Linked DNA regions of Homo sapiens: region 1 is linked to region 2. The links are contacts of gene promoters, found by promoter capture Hi-C in blood cells and fetal thymus (Javierre and others, 2016). All regions are on one chromosome and are shown on one strand. The core of a region is centred on a gene start or on the middle of the fragment in contact, and the rest is flanking DNA. Distances in the headings are between cores, read along the strand shown. Region 1 holds the start of KRT1 (keratin 1). Region 2 holds the start of KRT72 (keratin 72).

The links. The method cuts DNA at HindIII sites, captures the fragments that hold promoters and counts their contacts. A CHiCAGO score of 5 or more calls a contact.
Region 1: a contact is called between the fragment with the promoter of KRT1 here and the fragment with the promoter of KRT72 in region 2, in 1 of 17 cell types (erythroblasts). The highest score is 5.7, in erythroblasts.

The regions. Positions count from the first base shown.
Region 1 is chr12:52,678,741-52,683,645 of GRCh38, forward strand. KRT1 (keratin 1) reads right to left here and starts at 1,667. Exons shown (of 9, transcript NM_006121.4): 1 at 1,018-1,667; 2 at 1-16. The coding sequence starts at 1,608. The HindIII fragment of the contact is 12,025 bases long and covers 1-2,207 here.
Region 2 is chr12:52,598,607-52,603,646 of GRCh38, forward strand. KRT72 (keratin 72) reads right to left here and starts at 2,857. Exons shown (of 9, transcript NM_080747.3): 1 at 2,421-2,857; 2 at 292-506. The coding sequence starts at 2,846. The HindIII fragment of the contact is 8,078 bases long and covers 1-5,040 here.

The DNA.
Region 1 (4,905 bases), core at 417-2,916, 79 kb after region 2:
GCTCCAGGAACCTCACCTAAAAACACAAGACCCCTTTACTCCTGATGCATAAATGGAGTCTCATAGCCATGGAGAACTGTGCCTCATTTGGAAAAGAACCTCAATTCCTATCTTCTGACCATGACAGAGAAATAGGAAGAAGATGATCAAGTTAATATCATCTGCATAATAAAACCCAACTTGTTAATTCAGAGAGGGCTTGGAAGGGAGTAACTAAACAAATACCAATAGCAAAGCGCATACAGAATTATTGCAATTATGTTTTGAAATAGGTGCATGGTATTTAAGAGATTTGCCTTCCAAAATTTTGTTAGGTATATTACCATAAAAACTGGTTTGCATCCCCAGGACACACACACATTTCAAAAGTATATCAGGAAAATTCAAAATTGGATTTGAAATTTGTTGTGGATAACCTTGGATTGGCACTATTAATGATTAAGCAAAAAATTAAAAAAATGGTTTATCTGAGTTTTTTAGAGCTGATTTTTGGAGATATTAGTATAAAAAAACTCTAGCCTCATCCAGTACCAATGTAAAATTATTAGAAGGCAGAGCTCCCCTCTGACAGCAAAAGATGTTTGGCACTGACTGACCACATGTTTTCTGCTACAATAACACTCTATACTATGTTCACACTCAACTCCCTTTCTATGGTTAGGAAGACCTTTCCAGGGTTCTCACTTGCACCCTGGAAAGTTCAGTTAGCCCCATTTCTATTATCTTCATTCAACAGATATGAGTCCCAATTCCGCTCAAGAGCTGAATAAAAAGCACTTAAATGTTAATGTCACACTGACCCACCTTTAGGTCGACCACGAACCCTTTGTCAAAGAGAGAGTCATTAACACCATTCACAAGCATACATCTAACATATCTCCTAGGAGACCATTCCACAAAACATCCTTTTAATCATGTAAACATGGAAACTTGAGGTTCAAACCTACTGTGTTTTGACTGCACCAATCCCAAGTGGACCAGCGGCAGCCCTACCAGTGCAATGAGAGAGAAACTCACCTTGTCAATGAAGGAGGCAAATTGGTTGTTGAGTGACTTGATTTGCTCCCTTTCTCGAGACTTCACCTTTTGGATCTCAGGGTCAATCTCCACATTGAGGGGCTGAAGAAGGCTCTGGTTGATAGTGACTTCTTGTATGCCACCAGGAGGGCAGACAGGACCATAACCACCCCCATATCCACCACCCCCAAAGCCACCTCCACCAAAACCACCACCACCACTGCCAAAACCACCAAAGCCACCACCCCCAATGCCACCTCCACCAAAGCCACCACCACCAAAGCCACCACCACCAAAGCCACCACCACCATAACCACCACCAAAGCCACTACCACGTCCACCTCCTCTAGCCACACTTATGGAGATGCTTTTACTGCCACCAAGGTTAACAAGACTCCGACTTCCAAATCCACCACCAGCACCAAAGCTACCACCACCACCACCACAGCTTGAAAATCTCCCACCACCTCCTCCACTGCGGCGTGTGGAGCTGCTGGTGGTCCTGCGCTGGTAGTTGATGATCCCAGCAGAGCCAGAGCTGAAGCCCCCTCCACTTCGGTACCCAGACCTGGAACTAAACTGTCGACTCATGTTGACTTAGAGAAAAGTAGGAGCAAGGTAGAGTAAGGGAAGGAGCTAAACACTCCTCTACCCCAAGCATAGAGACTTCCCCTTATATACAGGGAAGAAATTGGGCTTGGTCTTCTAGAGTCAGCGGAGATGCAGTGCCTGTCAAGGGTTTGGCTTGCCTGCAGCCATACAAGATTTTTACGAGCCTCAACAATACGATAAACACTACACACCTAGCTCCCAGGATGGGCTCTCAAAATTGCTGTGCATGCAAGATTGGTTCATGTGGTAATTATTTTATCACACAAGATCTTCCTTCAAGCATTTGTGGCTTTGGGAAAACAGGACCCCACATCTGATACCTGGTGTTTCTTGGTAGGATTTCATAACCCCCATCAAAAAGGCATGAAAGTTTCTATTCTCACCTTGCCTTTGTGAGCTACCAAGCACACTCTCTTACCATGCACAGCAGGTGCAATTCCCCGTGCTTGGATCTCAGAAGGAGCTCTCTGGCCCATTTCTAAGATCTTCTTTCCAAACTCCAGAGCTCACTCAGTTACAACCTGACAAAGAGAAAGGGCTTTAATAACTAAAAAATTAAAAGGTCTTTCATAAATATAAGCTTTATAAATATACCACAGTGATTAATTAAAGGAAGAGAAGCTGTCATTGAACAAGATGGATGAGTGGGTGGTCTGGAAGAACCAGAAGGGAGAGACATTTTTTTTCTCTGTTTCTCAGTTATTCCTTTTCTTGTTTCTTTTCTTCAAAGATAGAGCAGGAGACAGACACCAGCAATAGAAAACAGGTAGCAATGGATAGCATGCAAACGCCCTTGAGTGAAAAAGCCCACAGAGCAGTGAGACGAGTAAATAGAAGCTCTAGGACATTTTGTAAAGCACAGGGGTGGAGGTGAGGCTTGATAGGTGATTCAAGCCTCACACTGGACTGCAAAGAGAGAGAGATAAATGCAGATTTGGAAGGGAAGACAATGAGAGGTGTCTGGAGAGCCTTATATGAGAAGTTTAAATTGTTTCTGGAGGTGATAATAATGATAATACCTAACATGTATCAAAAACTGACCATGTACCAGGCACTGTTCTACGTAGCACATATGTATTAACTTGCTTAATTTTCACAACTTTGAGATAGATGCTATTTTTCTCCCCATTTGTAAAATGAGGAAGCAGAGACACAGGGGTTGAATAACGTGATCAAGTCTACACAGTTGGTAAGTGGGGTGCCTGCGATTTGAAGCAAGAATACCTAGCTATCATGTGCAAGATCCTAAACAGCATGTTGTACGACAGCACAGCAGCCGAATTCAAGTCATTCTGCCTGCTGTGTGTAAAGCCAGACAGCACAGGAAGCGCCCCACCACAGAGAGCTCTGAGGGCAGAAGGCCTGTTTTATCACTCTGAGTCCTTGGCTCCTGGCACATGCAAGTCTTGGAAAATGTTTCTTCAATTCACACTGAGAAGGAGATTTTGGTGGCACAGAGTTTAGTGAGGAGATTTTACTTCCATCCAAGTGCAAGAGTACCCAGCATGCATTGCAATGGACCAGGAAACCTCAGGGGTCTTCCTGGAGAGCAGCACTTGATCAATATCAGTGGATAATAGTGGCACTGAGATCTGGACACACTAGAAGCCCAAGCAGACTTTCATTCGAAGACTTCTTAGAAGCCTGGCATGGTCCCCGGGCCTGCACATAAACACAGAATTGAAGACTCAAAGGGGAGAAGCCAGCTCTAACTTCAGCTGGCTCCAAGTAACTCTGTAAGTGGCAAACCATAGATGTACATGGGAAGTCTCCACTATGGTGTGCAAGATCTATGGGAGAAAGGGAGTCTGTGAAGATCATCTGGTCCCATTACTCTGTGGCTCTGAATCGGGCTGGCTGTGTCGGTCCTCTCCATTGCACTCCGCTATTGAACCTTGTCCCTCTTCTCCTCCCAGTTTTTGCCCTATACCCTCCTCCAGAAAGTGCCCCTCACCGCTCCCCTGCTACTCCTCTCCCTCGCCATCACTGTGGCACTGCTGTCTGGGACTCTGTCCTAGCACTAAAATCCTTCGGCTGCTAAACCAACCATCTCTTTAGGGAATGAGTAATTCAGGTCTTGTTAGGAACAATGGAGACTGGGACAGTCTTGGCATGGTAATGACTGTTGCCTAATCATTTTCTGACAAGCAATCAAAATTATTTTAGTTCAGCATACTCCCTCATGAGACATATTGTTCTGCACAATCGATTCCTTCTAGCATTTTGGAGGGGTGTGAGTATGTGTGTGCACACATGTTTGTGTGCACACATGTTTGTGTGCATGTGTGTGCCAGCCAAAAACAGACCTTGGCAGTGATCCACACTCCCATCTTTGAACTAAGAAACTGACATACAGAAAAATCAAAGGTTTGAATGAATGGTCAGGGAATTGGTAGACAACTTAGCTGCAAAACATACCCCAGGTGCTCCTGTGAGAAGGGAGAAATGCAGGACTAGCAGGAATAAGTGCCATAAACCTCACCATAGCTTACATTTGCACAGCTCACCCCACCAAACACATATGCAAAGAGCATCCCACAAGAGCCCTGAGAACTAGGCAATCAAGCTGTTCTCAACCCATTTCATGAAACAGAAAACTGATTCTCAGAGATTAAGTGGCTTCCTCTAGACACTCCGGCTAGGAAAAGACACATCTGGAAGCAGAATCTGGGTTTTCTGATTTCAATTCAAGTGACATTCCTCCCTGAACCGGGAAGAGGCTCAAAGACAGGCAAGTGGAACTGGGCCCTATAAACAAGTACACAGAGAATTACAGAATGTTCTCATCCATGGGGCCTCAAAGGTCACATCATCTAACCTGCCTCACAGAGAAGTGAGAGCACAGGCCCAAAAAAGTAAAAAAAAAAAAAAAAAAAAAAAAAAGTGTCCAAGTCATAAGTCAATTCCTGAGACTCTTCCAATTGTTGAATCAAACTCCTTTTCTTTTTCCACTGCCCACTTTCGAGGCAGCCCAACAGAGCTGGAGCTGCAGTGCTGCCAGACCAGGCCCGTCATCTCCTGTGATGTCCCCAGGATCAGTGTGGGTGTGTGGGATATGAAGAACCACATGCAGGAAAGGTGTGAGCCACACACTCTCTCCTGGCTTACTTATGTACTGTGCATTTATGAAATAAAGACAAAATGAGAAAGAAAGAGACACTAACATCTACAGGCAGCAACTATGCTGTTAGGAGCCACATTGCATTTAAATACCACACAAAGTCTGCGTCGTGGGAGCTCTTAGCCCCATTTTAAAGAAAAGGCATCTTAGGTTTA
Region 2 (5,040 bases), core at 1,607-4,106:
AAAACTTCACTCAGGAGGAACTACAAAGGCATTTGGGTTGTCCATCTGGTTTTGATACAACTCTCTTTCCCCCATTCCTTCATTTTCAGTGCTAGAAATTGAGCACACATTTCCTCGACAGTTTGGAGAACCGGTGTAGGTAGATCTATTCTTTTCCTAGTTCCATTCTGTCTGGATGTTCCTCCCTCCCCCGGTATCAGCAAGGATCTCAGAAGCAAAAATGCCATCTCCAAACGAAAACCTCATTTGAAATCAGATCCTCCAGGGCCATATTCCCTGCCACTCACTCACCTCTTCTTGTAGTCCTCCACCAAATCCTGCATGTTCCTCAGCTCCGAATCCAGCCTCACCCCGTCCCCAGACAGCATCTCCAGCTGCTTCTGCAGGTTGCTGATGTAGCCCTCATAAATGGGCTCCAGGTTCTTCCTGCAGTTGTTCAAGTCCAGCTGCTGTAGGAGGTTCCACTTGGTCTCTAGCACCTGATTCTGCTGCTCCAGGAACCGCACCTGGAACCCAAAGGCAGTCATCGCCCAGAGTCCCCATGTTGTTGCCTCTCAAGAGTGGGGAAAGGGCCCCAAAAACCAGAGGCAGCCATCCTGGGGGACTGGGGGTAGGAGAAAACAAGGCTTATCCCGGGGTGGATTCAGCCGAGGGACATGCTCACCTGGATCTCCAAGACAAGAAATAGGACCCGGTCTATATGGAATCAGGAAGAGGGCTTAAGCAATGGTACCATCTGCCTCTGCCTCAGTGAGTTTTCATGAGACAGAGGTAGCTTCTCATGCTATAAATGCTGGTGTTTTCTGAGTAAAGAGAAATGGGGAGCAGGGGAGAAACAGGGACTGGGGAGTGACATTGGAAAGCACACTGGCATTTAGAGCGTTCCTCCTGTTGTGTAGCCTAAATTGCACTTGGTTTGTTCATTTCTTTGTTGTTCACAGCAAGTTACCACATCTTCACAAAGTTCCTTCATACTTGACCAGGGTGCACATTTTTAGACTCAATAACTCCAAGCCCTCTGCCACACACCAGCATTCCTCTTCTCACCTATCTTTCAGCTTGAGGGGCAGAAGGAAACATGCTAGGGAACAACAGACATAAAAGAGCAAGAGAATGCTCTGGCCTCTGGAATAGCTGCTGTGTTTCTTCCATGCAGACCTGTGCCCTCCCGCCACCTCAATTCCTCTTCCCTAGCATAGTGGTGACACTCGGTCCACCACCAACTGTCCTGTCCAAGGTGAGCTCATTTCTTAGCCTCCCATGTCTTAATATCCTCATCTGCAAGGCAGAACAACAACAGAATCATGGGTTGTGATTGTAAATGAGAATCACTTGGGACGGCACCATAAATGTCAGCTATTGTTATCAGGCTGTCCCCTTATCACTCACCGTCTAGACCTTCCATCCAGGTGGAGACAAGAGAAGTCCATTCCCTGTCTCCTCTCCACTCACTGGGGTCATTGCCTCAGAAGCTCCAGAGACAACTTCCCTATTACCCCAATTTCTGGATGCCCCACCCTCAGCACACACCTGTAACTTTACATGCACTCTTTCCAAGTGCCTCCTCAGCCTCACCCTTCAGTTTTCTGGCCCTTTTCTCTCACCTCCTCTATCATCTTCCTGGCTACACACTTACCCCACTCCTCAAGCACCAAGCACCATGTCCTGCAACGTCTCTTGGCCTCTGTTCCTAATGCCCTGCCCTGAATGTGGGTCCCATCTCCTCTTCTGATATTGGGAGCTCTCAAAGTGCCCATTCCTTGGACATCCTGACCCCTCCCTTCTCACAGTCTTGTCTCATGCAAGAAAGAAATGAAGGTCCTTGATACGTTTTGGCTGTGTCCCCACCCAAATCTCAACTTGAATTAAGTCTCCCAGAATTCCCACGTGTTGTGGGAGGGACCCAGGGGGGAGGTAAATGAATCATAGGGGCCGGTCTTTCTCCTGCTATTCTCCTAATAGTGAATAAGTATCACGAGATCTGATGCGTTTATCAGGGGTTTCCGTTTTTGCTTCTGCCTCATTTTTCTCTGGCCGCCGCCATATAAGACGTGACTTTGGCCTCCCGTTATGATTCTGAGACCTCCCCAGCCATGGAGAACTGTAAGTCCAATGAAACCTCTTTTTTTTTTTCCCAGTCTCGGGTATGTCTTTATCAGCAGCATGAAAATGGGCTAATACATCCTGTTTATTGGAAGTATGTGCCAGGCACTGTTCTGAGCACTTCGTAAACATCCCAATTAAGCCTCATCGCAACCCACTGGAGTAAGACCCATTATTGTGCCCATTTTACAAATGGAAAAGGGAGGCTCGGAGAGGTTATGACCCGCCCACGCTCCCACACAGCTCGCCAGTGGCAGAGCCAGCACCACTGTGCACATGCGCCCAACGCAGGGACAGGCCAATGCCCGAGGACTCACCTTGTCGATGAAGGAGGCGAACTTGTTGTTTAGCGCCTTGATCTGCTCCCGCTCCTGGGCGCGCACCCTCTGGATCTCGGGGTCCATCTCCACGTTGAGCGGGGCCAGGAGGCTCTTGTTGACGGTGACCTGAGGGATGCCCCCGGGTGGGCACACGGAGGGACACTTGGGCCCCAGCCCGGCGCTGCCGAAGGCGGTGCCCACGAAGCCGCCCAGGCGGCCGCCGCCCCGCCGTGCAGCAGCGCTGAGCGCCAGGCTTCGGCTGCCCCCAAGGCAGGAGAGGCTCTTGCTGCCAAAGGAGGCCGAGCCCTTGACCCGGGCCCGGAATGAGGCGGAGCTGCTGCCGATCCCGCCAGAGAGGACCGCGGAGCAACCGCTGAAGCCCAGGCGCTCCCCGCGGGGGAAATGGGTCAGTTGGCGGCTCATGGCTCGCAAGTACCGGTGCTGGCCGCGCGGGAGGCAGAAGGGGCGCAAACAGCCGCTGCGTTCTCGGCCCAGCTCGCCCCTTAAATAGCCTGGCTGGCTGGAGTCAGCCTAATTTGTATGTCGACAACACCTTTTAGATCCCTTGAGGCCTCTTGGGTTCTTCATGTAGGAAATTACCATGCACTCACCGAGATTTTTGTCTGTTCCACCGTGAACTCCCCATGAATCCCTGTAAAGTGACCCAGAACCCAGCATTTACTTGGCTCACCTCCTGCATTATCATGGCTTAGCGACCTTATCTCCACCTGCTGGCCTCCAATTACTGGGGTTATCACTCCCAAGATCACCCCTGGAAACTTCCAGTGGGGCTGACCCTCTGGGTGTGTGTCTGGGGAGACGGAGGTGTGTGAAGCAGAAGTCCAGGCTGCTTCTGCTTCAGAAGGCCATGAATAGAGTCAAGACTATCGCAGAAAATCATCCTTAGCCTGTCCTCCTCCTGCCTCCCAGGCTTCTGGATGAGGACAGCTCTGTCCCTTGTGCAAGAAGGAAGTTCAGAAGGAGGAGATTTTGGCCCCGTCTGCAGAGACCTCTCAGTCTGTTGGAGAAGGCAGGACACAGAGACCTCTGGTCACAAGTGTTGAGGGTTGACTTTGGACCAGAGCGAAAAGATTTCTCCACTAAGCATTTCTGGACTAAGAATGGGGACCATGCTATCTGGGAGGGAGGGAAGAAGGCCTGGGGAGGTGGTACAGGAAGACTCAGGCATGGTTTAGCAGATGGTGTTTCCTAAGGCTTTCGGTTGTTTTCATTTTTGTTTTCTTTTAATAGCAGAAGAGGCTTATTTATCCCATCCAGCAAACCTCTGCTCAGGTCATTTGCCACCCAGTCATTTCTGATTCAGCATCAAAATGTGATCAGTTATTAGGAAGAGGTCAAGACTCTTCAGATCTAAAACCAAGAACTAGATTCTAGAACTTCATTCCCTTTAAGCTACAGAGGCTCCTTCTTCCACCTAACCCGATTTCCTTTTCTCAAACTTAAGCTGCCTTCAAGTCTCCTCCTCTCTTAGCAACAGCTCTCCTGTTCCTCTGGCATGCAGGTGGGATTATTTCATTGCTCTTATTTCTTAAGCTGCCAGAGTCCTGGGTGTGTGTTCCATTTCCTCTATCAGATTGACAGGGCCCCCTGGATTCACCCTTCCCTCCTCTGCTCCCCCAGTGCTCAGCCCAGGCCTTGGCCAAAGGGACATTTAGGATGATTGTGAAACAGCAGAGTGCTTAGGGCAAGGCTTGTTACTGCACCTTCAGTGATACCCTGAAGGCTGGGTTCCCCTTGGGGACCTCATGGGTTGGTTAAATGGTACCTGGGGGTAATTGGCTGACATAGCCTCCACTGGGCCAATGACAGGACATAATAACAGCCGAAGCGTTTACTCCACGGGGAACAAAGTTGTGAGGGCATTGTTAAGCGCTGGAGATGGCACCGATCACAGATGAACAGATAACGGCATCTGGGTGTCCTAGGTGGGAGAGAGGGTGGGCTCTCAGTGCTGCCTCAGAGGAGGGGCTGTAGTCCCTTCCCTCTGAAGAGGAGAAGGGCAGTGTCAGTGTGGCTGGGTGACAGCAGACCCTTCAAGAAGATCAAGGTTATGTTTTTTATTATTACATGAGATTTTCCCTCTACCCCGTAATTTTAGCCAGTTTTTTTTCCACAAGCACAAAAATGAATTTATTTATTCCAGCCATTGAGAATAGAAAAGCAAGGAATGGATTACACTGAAAGAGGAGAATTTTTACGTAGGATTGACTGACAAAGGGTGTCTTTGAAATAATTTTTTTTTTCTTCCTAGAAATTTTCTAAGGAGTTGAGATATCCTGGGACCAGGGCTCTTCTGCCCAGGGTTAGGGAACTGTAAGATGACCTTTTCTCATCTTCCTATGAGGGGTTGACTGGCTGGATGAATAAGGAATTCCTCAACCCCTGAATCACCTTTATTACAGATCATGAGGAGACACAAGTGACACATGCAGATTTCAAAGGCCTCAGATGTGTGGGGATGTCAGCAGATCAAAGGGGGTTGAGGCCTGGGAGGAGGGGTTCTCATTGCCTCTGCCTCTGACAGCAGCTTACGGTGTCACCTCAGGCCTTGGTGACCACCTCTGTCATTAGTTCTTGGGTTAAAGCAACCCCTGGA